Regions from separate parts of the Homo sapiens genome. Here regions 1, 2 and 3 are each linked to region 4. The links are contacts of gene promoters, found by promoter capture Hi-C in blood cells and fetal thymus (Javierre and others, 2016). All regions are on one chromosome and are shown on one strand. Each heading gives the region's core, a stretch centred on a gene start or on the middle of the fragment in contact. The rest is flanking DNA. Distances are from core to core; before and after follow the strand shown.

What was found. Contacts are between HindIII fragments. The CHiCAGO score rates a contact against its expected background, and 5 or more counts as called.
Region 1: a contact is called between a fragment that was not itself captured here and the fragment with the promoter of LRP12 in region 4, in 1 of 17 cell types (M2 macrophages). The highest score is 6.7, in M2 macrophages.
Region 2: a fragment that was not itself captured here is called in contact with the fragment with the promoter of LRP12 in region 4 in 1 of 17 cell types (M1 macrophages); the score reaches 6.8 in M1 macrophages.
Region 3: a contact is called between a fragment that was not itself captured here and the fragment with the promoter of LRP12 in region 4, in 1 of 17 cell types (fetal thymus). The highest score is 7.7, in fetal thymus.

Annotation. Positions count from the first base shown.
Region 1 is chr8:105,763,455-105,766,154 of GRCh38, forward strand. The region is part of intron 5 of ZFPM2 (zinc finger protein, FOG family member 2); the gene reads left to right. Among named protein-coding and RNA genes, the nearest start is that of ZFPM2-AS1, 300 kb to the right of the region's middle. The HindIII fragment of the contact is 1,589 bases long and covers 491-2,079 here.
Region 2 is chr8:105,730,244-105,732,943 of GRCh38, forward strand. All of the region lies in intron 5 of ZFPM2 (zinc finger protein, FOG family member 2), which reads left to right. Among named protein-coding and RNA genes, the nearest start is that of ZFPM2-AS1, 330 kb to the right of the region's middle. The HindIII fragment of the contact is 1,321 bases long and covers 716-2,036 here.
Region 3 is chr8:105,798,469-105,801,168 of GRCh38, forward strand. ZFPM2 (zinc finger protein, FOG family member 2) reads left to right here. Exons shown (of 8, transcript NM_012082.4): 7 at 256-480; 8 at 2,579-2,700. The region is part of intron 2 of ZFPM2-AS1 (ZFPM2 antisense RNA 1); the gene reads right to left. Among named protein-coding and RNA genes, the nearest start is that of ZFPM2-AS1, 260 kb to the right of the region's middle. The HindIII fragment of the contact is 354 bases long and covers 1,085-1,438 here.
Region 4 is chr8:104,587,881-104,590,580 of GRCh38, forward strand. LRP12 (LDL receptor related protein 12) reads right to left here and starts at 1,378. Exons shown (of 7, transcript NM_013437.5): 1 at 939-1,378. The coding sequence starts at 1,017. RefSeq lists silencers at 537-646, 1,077-1,416. The HindIII fragment of the contact is 14,799 bases long and covers 1-2,700 here.

The DNA of each region.
Region 1 (2,700 bases), core at 35-2,534, 1.2 Mb after region 4:
TACAATCTGCCCTAGTTAAAGCTTCCAGGAAAGAGTTCTTGCCATTCCAAGTAAATAATTATGAGAAGAGAGTAGAACTAACATTTTTGAAGTGACTATTCTGTGTTCAACCTTGTGCTATGTCCTTCATGTAAAGTGATCTTATACAACAATCATCTTCCAATACACAGGATAATCCCCATTTTCCAGATGAGGAAACTGTGTCTCAGAAGGATTAAGTAGATTGTCCAAGGTCACATAGATGCTAAATATTTATAGTTGAGTTCCTTACCCAGATCTGTCTGATTTTTAAAAGGCCACTTCTTTGCATTATATGGGGATGATTATCTTTAGTAGCCTGGCAAATGGAGTAAGATCATAAGTGGGCTTGGTGATTTACTAAGGGTTTGGAAGCTGTTTTTCATATCTAAAAAAAGATGGGATCATAAACATCATGGTCCTAAGAACATGTAGAGCCTACCTACCCAGCAGCCAATTAGCATAGCAGAGAAGCTTTTATTAATGCAGAAAATCTGCTCTTCCCAGAAACTGAATAGTAAACTAATTACTTTCAGGATCTGGAAATGGGAGCATACTACAACTTGAGTAGGATATTTATTTTATTGACCACATTTTCAGCCTGTTGTGTTTTTCCAGTCATTTAAAGATTAATTGGTAAGTATCCAGGACTCTCTTTGATCCTTTAGAACTATAATCATGAAACCCAGGGAATAGATAGAAGTGCAATTAATTGCCTTGTGATACATGAACCAAACTTTAAAATTGTAGGATTTTGGTGGTAAAGCTAGATCAAGGTTTAAAACTCTCTCTCTCTTTCTCTCTCTCTCTCTCTGACACACACACACACACACACACACACACACACACACACATATTTGGAAATACTCAAAATCAAATTATTCCAAAAATTAATTTGCAGAAGCAATGTTTGCTGAATACACTCAGGATTTTTATAGAAAATTTTCTTCTATTTTCAGTAGAATGTTAATAGATATTTTCTATTATCCTTATTATGACTTTTTTACTTCCGTTTTTCAATAATTCACTGAATCAATACTTTTATTTAGTCAGTGTTTTCTTTTTAGAAAAAAAAATCTTCCATGGATTCAAAAAATGTTGTAATAAGTTTGATTGTATTCAAGAATGTGAAAGGAGTAACTGTTTCATTCTTAGACCTTGACTCGATTATATTTCCCTTGCAAAGTGAAATGTGTTTTTTCATGATTTTTTTTTCTTTTAGTTTCATGGTTCATTGCTATACTTGATGCGATTTCAGGGTAATTTTATACAATTTTGTAAATGACTTAAGTGATGTAATGTACTGAAATACACAGTAAGGTGTTTTAGAATCTGTCATTTTCATTTAGAAGAAAAAACACCAAGTATTTGATAAGCATTTGAAAAGAAGTCCAATTCAGAACCCCTAGTGTGCAGAGAAGTTTGATTTACCTGTCTCCACCTCTCTTCCTTTCCTTCAGGCAAACATGGGCTCTAGCTTTCAGAATTCATAATGACCTTTGATTTAAAACAGTTAGTACTAAGTCCTCTGTTTCATTTAAGAGCAAAATTCTTAGATTTCAGGACCACGTGGTCAGTGTACAATATGTCACTTTATTTCCCCCACTGAACATAGTTGATAACAGGCTTTATTTTGTTTTTATTTTAGCATAAACTATCCTTTAGAGGTCCTGAATCATTTAATATGAATTTTGCTGTAAAAATCACAGTACTTATCATTTGGGGGTTCTATATTTCTTAGTAAAATCCTAGTTAACTACCAGTGCTTTTAAATTTTGTAAAATAGCACAAATACTAGTTTTAATCTAGTACGTAAAATGGGTTGTTTAGAATCCATATTTCTTTTCATATTTTTTCATATCATTCAAGCCACTGTCAATTTCCCCTTAATAAAGCTGATCTTCAGTTCTGCATTTAGCCACAGTATGCCAGTACAATTTACATTTTGATTCACCGTAAAATTCTAACTTTTCATATTATTTCATTCTAGAGTTCCAGTCGCTTTATTTAATAGATTGTCCTTTGATCTCTGGAGACAATTGCATTTTACTTCTCTAATGAAGCTTGTATGAATATAGCCAAAGTGAGTGTTGCACCAAATGGTAGAAGAAATCCGAAGAGAAGCATGCCCTTCTCTATGGAGGTTGGAAAATGCAGCATAATTCGTTTTTGAGAGTTATCAGGCAGCTCGTCCCCAAATCCCTATTTCATGCCATTATTTTGTTTAGCATTTTAAGGCATTTTGTAATAGTAACATATTTTCAAGGTTCTCTGACTTACTTCTAGCAATCGGTTCAATAAGTTAATATGCTCTTTATACAGCAGATAGATAGGTTTTACAATAGGAAAAGAAAATGGTATGCCAAGTGGCCTCTTGTTTCTGAAATTTTTGGCAAATATTTTTGTCCTCTAATTTGTACTTTAATAATTTGTCACTGGCATTTCTGGAAATTGTTTTTCAAGGGGCCTCATGTAGTTTACTCAACAATAAGTAAAAATTTAGCTAAAATCTCGCTGGTTAAACTGAATGTGAAAACAGTCAGTGATTTAAAACTATACTCTGTTATGTGGTTTGAGTGTTGTATTTATCTTTATGGCCTTTATCTTCATAGTTTTATCTATTTTGAGTAAAAGAAGGGATTAAAGTGCAGAGCATGGAGGGAGAATGAGGAAGTCTAAGCT
Region 2 (2,700 bases), core at 126-2,625, 1.1 Mb after region 4:
AAATAATATTTCTCATGCATGCATGAAAGTAAGACAGTTTTGATATTGAAAGCCCAGCCAATCAAAGACAGAAACTCATAACATGTAGACTTCTTGTTACTATTGGACTATTTAATTCCACGCTACTCATATTTAGGTCCCACTGCTACTCCCAATACCTTTGTCCACCAAGTGCTATTTCTGCCTTCAGTTCAGTGATGCCAATCACCTCCCATCACCTGGTTCTGCCTTACTGATAGATTTTACATGCACAAAGTTGTTTACTCTGAGCTCTTTGCTCCAGCGAGGGATTGCTGCTGAGAATAAAGTCTTCCCTAACCCCAGTGGTCTCTTTACGTTGTTCAGAGTGGATTGCCACGTGTTCCTGATGGCTTAACTCTCTTAATGCCTCTTCTGGACATTATTTTAATGGCTTCTTTTTAGGATGGCATATTTTAATACACACAGTATATTAAAGGCCTGAAGGAAACCGTAGAAGAAAACACCTCGTTCTGTCTAGAAGTCAAAGCGACACCTGAACTTTTTCTTTTTTCTTTTTTTTTTTTTTTTTTTTTACTGGCTACAGAATGAATGCTGCCTGAATGAGTAATGATTAGAAAGCGTTTGGAACTGTATTACCATAGGTGACAGCTCTGCAGAGATAGGCAGGTAATGTTAAGAGGCAAGGATAAGAGGCTATGACATTATGTCTGGAGGGTTAAGGACTCACAGTCAAAGCTTGAACTGCTATTACTGGATCAATACTTCTCAGTTCAACACTTATCTTGACTACTGGTTAGAGGCTTTTGTAGATATGAACACTGAGAGAGCAAAATAAAACTGAAAAAAATGATTGTTGCTGTTCACTTACATGTGGATTGCTGAAGTTATTTAGGCTTCAGATCCACAATTCCTTTTTCATGGGGCAAACTCCAGTGACCTGAAAGCAGGATAAAAACCACCAAGTTATGAATTGTAGTGTGTTCTCCCTTGTCCTTTCCCTTATTTTTTTTCAAAAAGAAAGTGAAACCACTTCTCCTTTTTCCACTCCATGCCAAATCCTGCTTGGATTTCCTTGTACCATACTATACAGTTTCCTCTGCTTGATAAAACAATATTTGCCCATTGTGATTACACTATTCAAGGTTAAAACTCTTGAAAATCAACGAGAAGGAAGCATGCTATAATATCTGTGCTATTTGGATAAGCAGAAAAGAAATATTGCATTGAATTGAAAGGCACAATGAACAGTCTCTGGATTGTGTTACATAGAAGTTAGGGCTCATATGTCCTTCTACATGTAAGACATATTTGTATTCCACATATAATAATGAATTGAATGAACTAAAAGTTTCTGAGCGAACTTTGTTGCTAGGTTAACATCTTATGATTACTGTAAATAGAAAGTTTATAATATAGAGGGGGAGCTTCAACCTCCAAAAAATGATGAATGAACAATCAAAAGAGACACTATTCATGAAATCTAAAGGAATTTGTTGTAAGTTCAATTTTCAGAATGTATTGTAATTTAATGTCCAGATTTTAAAAAATCACTTTGCATGTTTGTACCATGATGACAAATCATTTTGAAAATCAAAGGAAAATGATGTCATATGAATAAGTGTTGCAACTAATAAGAACTATTTAAGCTAAGATGTCTGTTTGTTGCTTGTATCTTCCTGCTTAGTTTATTGAATAGCAAAGTGTGGAAGAATGATGAAACAGTGCATAACTGATGGAGAATTGTGACCTTTTACTAATAAGGTATACTAAATGAACTTTATGGAGCTGAGTGTTTTTGGTAGGCTGTGGCAAAAAGATATGAGAGGGTTTAGTTCCTTTCCCAAAGTTCTGAAGTTAATCCCCACTATACAGTGTAATTTAATGTTTTCTGCCTACAACAAAAATGGCAGCTGTCCCCCTATTTGAAATAGCATTCGTATGATCACTACATATTCATATTCCTATGCATACGTTATCACTTAAAAGGCTTTCTAATTACAACAACAAGACAAAAACTTCTTGGATTCTTTCCAGACTCACTAAATGATAAAATAAGCTTGTACTCTCTCCTTCTTAATCTCCTTAAAGCACCTTGGAGCCTCATCTCCGAAATACATGCGAATGAATGTGAAAATGCCATTTAGAGATGCAGGTGTGACATTTGATAAGAAACTTCTGGATTAAATATGTTCTGCTAATGAGGATCCCAGCTACCCCCATCAGGGCTAACTATTGGTTGGATTGTGTGTGAGCTGATAACATTCCACATGCGAACATTCAAATTCATTATTAATAAACAGCCCAAGTCTCTATCAGAAAAGTCTGGATCCTTTAGCAAGTGAGGGATGTTGCTTCTCATTAGGAGAAGACATCAAATCTTCCAGAATTTAGCAATTTCATTTTTGGAACCAATTTCTAACAGTGTATTAATGGTGCATTGAAAATCTGAACAAAGCCTTCATACTTTTTATTCATTTTGTAAATTACAGTAATCTAGGGAGGTCTGACTAAGCTACTGGAGCAATGGGCGGTAAAGACATTGGACTGAAGCATTGCAGTTCTAATGATTCCTTTATGATTAAACGTTTATGGAGAAAAAATTCATCCTAGGAGAGGGAAATTAACTTTCAGCTTGCACGTTCATTATCTTTGATACCAAAATGGAATGCAGCTTCTTGTTGTTAAAGTTTCAATCTTTTATTTTTAATTCATACATAT
Region 3 (2,700 bases), core at 12-2,511, 1.2 Mb after region 4:
AATCAATATCTTGTGTTTTAAATGTTGGAGTCTCCTCTTTCTCTAGAGTCTGTGGGAAGTTAAATTGCAGAGTACAACATTTCTTTAAAAGTCGAGTCCTATGCTGTAGAACAACACCAAAGACTGTTACTCATCTGATTGCCCAATTAAGAACCTGAGAGCGGAGTCTGAGAAAAATTGAACTAAATGCTGCTTTACCCACAGTTGGTTTCAAATGGACAGCAGCAAATGTGTCTCTTGTGTTTTTACCTGCAGAGGATATATTCCCTTGCAAGTCCTGTGGCATCTGGTATCGGAGTGAGCGGAATCTGCAGGCCCATTTGATGTACTACTGCAGTGGGAGGCAAAGAGAAGCTGCTCCGGTGTCAGAGGAAAATGAAGACAGTGCCCATCAGATTTCCAGCCTGTGCCCCTTCCCACAGTGCACCAAGAGCTTTTCAAATGCTCGAGCTCTAGAAATGCACCTGAATTCACACAGTGGTAAATGCCCCTTTTGTTTCTTCTGTTGCTCCAGAAGACTCTGTTATTTTTATAAATATATATGCATTACATGTATACGTCTATATCTGTCTATCTGTAGCTATCTATAACATCAAAATCAAACTTTCTGGGTCAACCAGTGTGATCTTATGCCACTTATACTCAGCATATGTTACTCAAAGGACTTGGGTCTGAATTCTTTTCTTACAAATTCAGAGGCCAAATCATTCTATTTGTTCTCAACTGAGGTTTTAAAAAAGCACATTATTTTAAAAAGAAAATCTCAATACCCTTTGAATATTGCCATTTATTGCTTTAGTGTCAAGCAATCTTTGGAAACTGATCATAGTGTTTCCTATATGGTAGGGAAGAAATAATAGGTACATAAATATAAGTGTGTGCTGAATTGAAATAAAGCTACTCTATTGATAGATCTAATTAAAATTACAGTTCAGGGATGTTTACTTTTAAATATGGATCAGTAAAATATTTCTGACTTCCAAAAGATGCATCATAACAGCTTAGGTGGTTTTTATGACATTAAACTACTTTTAGTACTATGTTTTAAAATCCCTTAAGAAAAAAATAGGCTGAAAAACAAATAAGCTTTTTAAGGCCCTCTCAATAGCAAGGTGGCAACTGTTTCTATTTAATTTGGAATTGTATGCCAGCTATTTTTAGTTTCATTTCATAGCATTCTAATTATCATATTTTTTAAAAAATGAATTTATTCAAATGTACAGAATTCTATTAACTTTAAATAATTTTAGGTACATTCTTACATGGGACAAACTAGGGACTGAGAATCATAGTTTTTCAGCACCTATAATACAAACCTTGTAGGACACCTCTGGGTGACTTTCTTAGTGGTCTTTGCCTAGATTAAATAATTTTAAAATGGAAACACATGTTGAGTTTTAAGCTACTGTTCTAACCTCCAGTGCTCTAGTACAGTTCAAGCTTTTGTCTTTGAACCTGTAAAAGTAGGTCATTTCCTTTCTGCTCATCCTCTTTCCTCTCCTTACAAATGAGCTATCTTCATATAGATAATAAAGCAGGGGAAGCAGAAACATATTGGTTGTCTCAGATGGTGAGTAAGGTCATGTACAAAACAAAAAGAACAGAATACAGGGGTCCTTTAAGCTAAATGGAAAAAAAAATGAGTATTAGATTCATTAAGGAGAAAAAGAGACAAGGATAGGTAGTCCCCTTTTATGACTACAGGACTAGGTACCTCTGCCATGTTTTCAGCTTATGAATATAAAAGGCAGTCTTATTCTAGTCCAGAGTACAGAGGGGATAAGCCAAGCCTGATTTTACCATATGCTGACCAATGGGAGCTAGAGTCAATCTTAGTGATGCTTACCCACCACAGTCAATGGTAATATTCAAAATATTTAATCATGGACTAGAAATAGGCAGTGATCAATCAGCATGGATGCCAATGCAAAATGACTATATTAGTGTACTGGTAGACTATATTAGTCTACCAGCTAAATATCAGCCCTGGATAGAGATAAACTATGTTCAGCAAAACTACTGCATAAAATTTTAAATTTATATTAATATAAATTAAGATTATATTAATTACTTTACAAAATGGTTTCTATTTGGCCTCTTTAGAATATAACCTATATGTAGTGTACTGAGAGTTATTTGATTTGCATTGTTTTCAATAGCAACCCTAATGAATGCTCACTTATTCCTAATGTAGAGGCTAATGTTATAGTGAGGTTATTAGATTAGTAATTATAAAATCCAAGGCTTAGGCATGGCTTCATCACTTAATAGCTTTATTAACATAATCAATTCCTTTAGCCTCCTTCAGCGTGTTTCCTCATCTATAAAATGGAGACACTGACACTTATTCCACTTTGATGCCATAATATTCATGAAAGTACTTTGAAAACTATAAAGTGCTATTAATATTATCATACACAGTAAGAGATGTCACAAGAAAACAGTTAATATCACGAATGAAATTTTGAAAGATTTCATTCCTATTGTGTTGCAAACATTAGGTCATTAGAAAAGGTCCCTGTCATTCAAAAACCAACACACATGTTTCTCATTGTTCTTATTTTGTATGTCTCTCTAGGAGTGAAAATGGAAGAATTCCTGCCCCCTGGTGCTAGTCTAAAATGCACCGTCTGTAGCTACACTGCTGATTCCGTGATCAACTTTCACCAACACCTGTTCTCCCATCTCACTCAAGCTGCC
Region 4 (2,700 bases), core at 128-2,627:
AGCTCTCTGAAATACCTATTCAGTGTGTTTAACTGATGAACTAAGAACGGTGAAGTCAGAAGTGTAACTTAATTATCTTAAGAGATAGATGTTCTTTGCAATTAATTCCATTCAGCTCTTGCTCAGACCCCAACGCAATATAAAGCTGTCCGCACAGTCTTCAGCCTTCTCTTAACCCGAAAGGAGTTATCTCTAACCCGATCCATCGACTGGAATAAAGTAACAGTGACCACAGCGGCGGACGAGGATGGATGAAATTACAATTGAACTAGGAGTCAGGACAGATGTGTACACCCTAACAGGAGAGACTGAGGTGGGGCTGGAAACTATTTTCTGGCCTTCTCCCGCGTGCTGCTCCCGGGGAACCAACAGGACCCTGCACGCCCGGATTCGGCAGAGCCCTTGCCCCCGAGGTGGAGTGGGGAGAAGTCAGCGGGAAGCCTTTTCAGGGAATCGAGTAGGACAAGGGCTGGCGCGGTGGGAATCTCGCCGGTGAGAGAACTTCCTAACCCCGGGTTGAGGGGGCGGGGGGAAGGACCGTCCCGGCAGCGGCGGGGGCGAGCTCCTCTGCTTTCTCACAGTCAAGCATCTTTGTGTGTGGATTGTGCCAGGCTACGGGTCCTGGAGCAACTGGCCGCGGGGGCCCTCGAACCCAGGTCGGGAAGTCCGCCCGCCACCCCCTCGCTCCGCCGGGGCCCTCCCGGCCGGGCCCCCCAGCCCCTCTCCACCACCCGAGGGTCTGGAGGTGGACGAGTGGAGAAAAGCATCTCCGTGTGGGGACACCCGTTCCGCCACATCCACCCCCTCACCGGTCTTTGTCCCGCCGGTAGCCAGGGTCTCCGCGGGAGTCTCCAGGGGAACCCCCGTCCTGGAGGCCTCGGGGCCCGGGTCGCCTCAGCTTTGTTCGGTCAGCGGGGCGCGGGGACGCGGACACTTACCGTACACCCCAGCGAGGAAAAGCAAGAGCAACGCAGACCTCCACCGCGGAGACTCTTTTGTGCTCCAGCGACAGGCCATAACCACAGCAGATGGAGAGAGAGAGGAGGAGACGGAGGAGGAGGGAGGAGAAGCTGGAGGTAGACGACGCCGACGCCGCCGCCGCCGCCGCCGCCGCCGCCGAGCCACCGGCTGCTCCCTGCGCTCTCCGCGGCTGCGGGAGGGGGAAGGGAGGGGCCGCCGCCGCCCGCGCGCGCTCCCTCCTCCCTCCTCCCTCCGGCTCGCCTGCTCCCACCCCGGGCGGTGCGAGAGCCCCACGCGGGGCGGCCCTCCTGGGGGCAAGGGCAAGGAGCTCGCGCGCCAGCGCGAGACGAGAGGGTGGCGGACGCCGGACTCCGGCCTCGCGCCGCTCGGGCTAGCCGGCGCCGCCACTCGCCAGACTGAGCGCGCGCCCATCCGTGCGATCGGCAATCCCCTGGCCCGCCTGCCTCGGTTCCCTCCCCGCGCTCCGCTGGACTTTCCAAGTTTCGGGCCGATTTCCACGCGACGGGAGCCCAAGGAGCAAGGCAGCGCCAATCGATGACAGAGCGTGCGAACGCCGGCTGCTGGATGCCCAGGGGCTGGAGCGCGGGGTGTGTGGAGGAGCACGGTCGCTGTCCGAGGGCTGGGCTCTGGCCCAGCGGGTGGGGGGAGGGGGGGTGGGATACCAGCTGGGAGGCTGAAGGTGGTTCCGTGTTGGGGGAGGCGTGGATGGTCTGAAGCTGACAACTTGGGAGTTCCTTCCTCTATCCGGTACCCCCAAGTCTCCACTTGCTGTCGGCGCGGAGCTTCGAGTGGGGGTGGGCTCAAGTTAGTGCGGCCAACCTGGCAGCTGGTCGGTCAAGGGGCAGTGTGGACTCCCACGCTCAAGGTGCCCGGAATGAGTCGGGCAAGGCTTGTGCAGAGCCCCTCCAGTCTGGCGTGGAAGCGCCAAGAGGTCATTTGACATCTCACGCTGGGTCGGGTGCAGCTGGGCCAGGATGTTCGGCAGGGCTGGAGCCGACTTTCAGGGTAGATATATTGAAAGGAGGATTCGCCCATCACGCTGCAGTTTCCCTAAAGCTCTTTTCTCACTCCCAGCAAATGGGAGTCCTCCTTTACTTAGATCCCCAGAACACTTTTCTAAGTACGTCTGTAGTGACGCTGGCACATCAGACCTTACCCCCTGTGTTTTTAAAGCGTTTGTCTACAACGTCTTATTTATATTAGATTTTATCGTTGCCCTTTGCAAGCACTCTCCATGCTATTCATTGAAGACCTACACTGCATCATGCTGTCCTATTGACATAGGTTGTCACTTTTTAATCCCAAACATCCTTGTGAGATAAATATTACCCATGTTTTATAGAAAAGAGAGAAATTAAATTACTCATGGCAAGTAAGTTGTTTGAAACAGTTTTTCTCATTCCAAAGTAAAGATTGTTGCCCCTATACCACAGCAAACTCTCTAGCACAATGCTTAGCGCCTAGTAATGTGTCGGAGTTGGTGCCTGCCAGGGGGTTCGTGGTCTCCCTGACTTCAAGAATGAAGCTGCAGACCTTCCCGGTGACTGTTAACAGCTCTTAAAGATGGCACGGACTCAAAGAGTGAGCGGTAGCAAGGTTTATTGCGAAGAGCAAAAGGACAGCTTCCACAGCATGGAAGAGAACCCCAGGTGCTGGCTGGTGGTGGCCAGCTTTTATTCCCTTGTGGTCCCCTCCCATGTTCCATTTCTGTCCTATCGG